Linked DNA regions of Homo sapiens: region 2 is linked to region 1. Evidence: promoter capture Hi-C in 16 types of primary human blood cells and fetal thymus (Javierre and others, 2016). All regions are on one chromosome and are shown on one strand. The core of a region is centred on a gene start or on the middle of the fragment in contact, and the rest is flanking DNA. Distances in the headings are between cores, read along the strand shown.

The links. Contacts are between HindIII fragments. The CHiCAGO score rates a contact against its expected background, and 5 or more counts as called.
Region 2: a contact is called between a fragment that was not itself captured here and the fragment with the promoter of TMOD3 in region 1, in 2 of 17 cell types (neutrophils and M1 macrophages). The highest score is 5.7, in neutrophils.

The regions. Positions count from the first base shown.
Region 1 is chr15:51,828,351-51,830,919 of GRCh38, reverse strand. TMOD3 (tropomodulin 3) reads right to left here and starts at 1,267. Exons shown (of 10, transcript NM_014547.5): 1 at 1,084-1,267. RefSeq lists silencers at 708-987, 1,208-1,362. The HindIII fragment of the contact is 7,100 bases long and covers 1-2,569 here.
Region 2 is chr15:51,657,467-51,660,035 of GRCh38, reverse strand. No RefSeq gene overlaps it. Among named protein-coding and RNA genes, the nearest start is that of SCG3, 23 kb to the left of the region's middle. The HindIII fragment of the contact is 9,807 bases long and covers 1-2,569 here.

The sequences.
Region 1 (2,569 bases), core at 18-2,517:
ATGTGTAAGAAAGGGGACTGTAACTATTATGATTGCTGACTCTTAAAGGTGAAAAGGTGCCTAGGAAGAAGAAACTAGCAAGAGTAAATGAGACTTGGCAAAGCTATTTTTCCAAGCCTAATATATTTTTGACGGGCCAATTAATCAATTTAATCTGCCAAAAAAATTAATCTGAAGGTTTCTCAGAAAAGGAGAGGAGACATGAGCTGCATGAAAATGTTACAAACCAAGGGAGGCTGCACATAACTAACTTAAATCTCCACAGGCTTATTTCCTGTTGAAGTATGGCCTCCTGGGGTAAGTTTTACTGCAGTGTTCATTGCCAGATGACTTTTGGTTTTAACAGAGGCCAAGGGCAAGTTGGAAATGCGATTCTTAACTAAACATTAAAAAGAAAAAAAGAAACTGTGGCTGTTTCCCATTTCTGTTTGTAATCAGAATGCAGGCTTGCGGAGGAAACACACCATCCCCCGCAAGCAAAAATATAACGACACAGTCACGTCCTCAAAACAAACTAACACACAAACTTCCCAGCCGGATCCAGCTGTGCTGCCTGGGAGCTAGGAACTTAATTCTAAGAGCAGACAGATCAAACCGGTGAATGCAAGGGCAGCCACATTTCAATCACAAAAAGGGTGTGCCCTAAGTTTTGGCTCCCCCACTCCGCCGCCCCACTTTCAACAAGCCGAAGCCTTTGAAGGAGGCTCGGTGCCATCTCGGTGTGATCGCGTCCCGGCGACGCTGGGTAGGGTGCAGGGAGCCAGCTCGGCCGCGGCTCAGCGGGAGGGGAGGGGGCCGGTCCCGAACCCGGGCGCCCGGGCCGCGGGTGATTCACTGGGAACGCCAGGTTCGCGCGCCTAGACCGGCGGGCGACGCCCAGCGCGCCCCACGTCCCCCGCCCGGGCCGTTCGCGCAGAAGCAGCCCCCGCGCACCCCTGCTCCCCGAGACGGACCCGTCGGGAAGGAGCCTGGAGTCGGGCGGCCGGCGGGCAGCAACCTCTCCCTCCTCAGCCACCATGGCCGGTGCGACTCCCTACCCGCGCCCGCAGACGGACTTCCTGGAAAGCACCGGGCTGGGCTTACCTGACTGGCGCCCGCAGGGGCCGCCGACCTCTTCACAGACCCACGGAAACTGCCGGCCGCAAGCCGAGGCTCGGTTCCCAGCACCCGCCGGTCCGCCCGCGTCGGCCTCCCAAAGAGTTGCCAGACCCACCCGCCAGCAGCTCCCTCACTCGACCGCCCTGTAGGTGCGGTGGGTTCCTCCTTCGCCTCCGACGCGCGTGCGCACTCCCGTGCCGCGGGGCATCCTGGGAGTTGTAGTTCTAGCAAGAAGGGCGAGGCTCAACGCTGACCCTGGTCTTTACAATGGGCAGAACGTAGGAAGGGGACTGCGAATACCAACCCTTATCCCAGTCTAAGATAATGTTCTCTACCCGTGGAAGTACCTACTATGGACTTCCCCGAAGCTGGAAATAGTATCTAGAGGCTCTTTGGTATAGATTTCCTTTTTACTTTGACCTTTTGTAAAGAAGCGCACATGGCAGGGCTTGCATTGTAGCCTTGGTTGTTAATGCGAGGACATGACATTGGGGCCTTTAAACTGGTCATGACAGAGTTATAGAAAAGTAAAGGAATAAAATCTAAAGCCCAAGAGAGGCATAAATCATGCGAATGTCACCTCCAGGGTGTGGTGACCTTAGTGGTTTTCTTAGGTATGCGTTTCGGGGATGATGTAGCTATTGCAGGGCAGTTTCTGCCCATCCTATCTTCCCTTTCCATCTTCAAGCTCTACACCAGGCGGTGGGGCTGGCTGCTGTAGTGGGAGAAAAAACAGAATAGGCTGCTCAAGGGGGGGATTGGGGCAGATGGGTAGTCTAGAGGGAAGAGGAAGAGTGTGGGAATCTCTCAGAGGACTGTTTGACAGTGGCCTATGTAATGGCTACCTTTTGTGCGAGGCTCTGAGGAGAGGGAACTGCGACATTTTTCCATTTATTCATTTAGTCACTTACTGGGAATTTTCCTGGCCTGCTCTTCAGGAGTAGACCATCCCCAGGAATAATGCTAAACTTTGACACACCTTTCAAAAATGCAGCCAAAGAAGTGGACTGACGTGCCTGCTTGAGGTACATTCCAGCTACACCCAGTGTGCGAGCCACTTCATGGTTTAAACCTCTCCTGGCATCTACTTCTTCCCCTCAGAGGAGGGAGGACCCTAGGTTAGATAAACATCCTGGAATTTCATGCAACTGGCACCCACTAATTTCAGCAATGGAGATCACTGATGGTTTAGGTTTTTAAGGGAAAAAAACCCTTCTTTTTTTTTTTCCAAGACAGAGTCTTGTTCTGCCGCCCAGGCTAAAGTGCAGTGGTGTGATCTCGGCTCACTGCAACCTCTGCCTCCCAGGTTTAAGTGATTCTCTTGTCTCAGCCTCCCAAGTAGCTGGGATTACAGGCACGTGCCACCACACCCAGCTAATTTTTGTAGTCCTAGTAGAGATGGGTTTTCACCATGTTGGCCATTCTGGTCTTGAACTCTTGACCTCATGATCTGCCCACCTTGGCCTCCCAA
Region 2 (2,569 bases), core at 30-2,529, 170 kb after region 1:
AAACAATGACTCTTGTTTGTTGTGCATCTTTTATTTACTTCATTTTTCTACTAATTAATTTTTATTTTATTTCACAACTGTAACTTTCTGCAATGGATTGGGGAAAAACTGTTCCTTCACCACAGGTGGAGAAACACTGACCCAATGCCCACTACATACTGAAATTTTCCCAATTATTCCCAATAATGTTATTTTTAGTTGGTTTGCTCAAACCATTTGATTATTGTATCTCTTAAATTCTTGTACTCTAGAACAGTCTTCCCTTCCCCGCTTCTTTCTCTCATGCCATTGACTTGTAAAGAAACCAGGCCAAGAAGGAGGATATTGAATGTTTCCAACATAAAGAAAGGATAAATATTTGAGATGATGGATATGCTAATTACCGTAATCTGATTGCTATGAATTATTTTTATCAAAACATCACTATATACCCCATGAATATGCACAATTATTATTTTCTAATAATTTTTTTAAAGACACCAGGTCAATTGTCTTGTAAAGTTACCTTCTCCTTAAAAACCCCATTCTGGTTTGTTTGATTGCTTTCTCAATATTTTTTCCCAGCCTGTGGCTTGCTTTTTCATTTTCTTTTCTCTTGAAAAACAGATTTTAATTTTGATAGTCTAGTTTACTGATTTTTGTCTTTTATAGTTTGTGACTTTTGAGTTATATTTAAGGTAGCCATAGGCCAAAAAAAATCCTCCAACCTCACACCATATGCTAAAACTAACTCAAAATGAATAATAGGCCTAAATGTAAAAGCTAAAACTATAAAAAATCCAGAAGAAAACATAAGAAAAAATCTTGCCCTTGTATTTGGCAAAGATTTCCCCAGGTTATTTGGATGAGCTGCCAGGATTGAGAACAACTAATTCATTTCTGATAGCAACCCAGGTCAATGTGACTTAAGAGGAAGTTTCTTAAGTTTCAGTGTTTCTTAAATATTAATGTATATGTTACTGGTGGAGGGTCTTGACGAGTCATCTAGGTTCTTGGTGTTTTGAACAAGGAATTGGACAAAACACACAAACAAAGCAACAAAAAACCAGATGAACGAAAGAAGCAATGAAAGCACAGATGTATTGAAAGGAAAGTACACTCCACAGAGTGGGAGTGGCTTAAGCAAGAAGCTCAAGAGCACCTGTTGCAAAATCTTCTGGGGTTTCATTACTCTTTAGAGGTTTCCTATTGGTTACACCCTATGTAAATGAAGACATGGCCCACAAGCAATCAGAGGCTGAAGTGGAGTTATGCCCTGTGAAAATGAAGACTTGGCCTGCGACCAATCAGAGGCTGAAGTGAAGGTTCCCTGTCTCCAGACCTTATTCTCTTGCTTCATATATACATATCACCTGTTTTTCTAAAAAAAACAAAACCAAACTATTTAGTAAGTCTTGGAATTGCCTTACCGCTGGTCTTTATTTTTATTTATTTATTTACTTTTTTGAGACAGTCTCCCTCTATTGTCCAGGCTGGAGTGCAGTGGTGCAATCTCAGCTCACGGCAACCTACACCTCCCCGCTCAAGTGATTCTCATGCCTAAGCCTCCCGAGTAGCTGGGACTGTAGATGCGTGCCACCATGCCCAGCTAATTTTTATATTTTTTTGTAGAGACGGGGTTTTGCCATGTTTCCCAGGCTGGTTTCGAACTCCTGGCCTTAAGTGATCTGCCTGCCTCAGCCTCCCAAAGTGCTGAGATTAGAGGGGTGAGCCACCCCACCCAGATTTCTCTGGTCTTTTTGTTATGTGGAGACATTATTTAAACTTTAAGCCACTTTTAGTTGGGTGTACAACACTCATCTGTAAGCATCTTAACAGTCATGTTTTTATAATCTCATTTTTAATGTCTACAAATAGCTCACTGAGTGGGTGTATCACACTTCTTTTTAAGAAAAGAATCACTTTCCTTCATAGACTTCTAGGAGGGACTTTACTGAATCAAAGAGTATAATAATTTTATGATTTCTTGTTTATATTGCCAAATTTCTTTCCAAAGAGTTTGTATCAAAAACTGTCCACTCTCTTGATATGAAATACAAATCAATTTAGGTTAAAATATCAATTAAAAGGGAAAATAAATAAAACCATTTATTCATAAATAACATGTGTGGGAGACCAGAATACACCACCACAAATATGCCTCTGGCATAAGGATTGTTGAGCTAAAGGTAATTAAGAAACAGTAGGTGCAGGAAAACTTTCTATCATCCCTATATTTCCATAGAAGCAGAACATACCTTGACAAAGACAAGAGGTATGACCCCATGCTCCACACACATACACTTTCTACCAGAGAGAACAAAAGTTAACCATTGAAAACAACTGTAGACCCTTATGGGTCTGGAGACGGCATCAGAGAGCTCTACATTAACAAGCATTACTGGCCGGGCCCGGTGGCTCACGCCTGTAATCCCAGCACTTTGGGAGGCTGAGGCAGGTGGATCACGAGGTCAGGAAATCGAGGCCAGCCTGGCTAACATGGTGAAACCCTGTCTCTACTAAAAATACAAAAAAATTAGCCGGGTGCAGTGGTGGGCGCCTGTAGTTCCAGCTACTCAGGAGGCTGAGG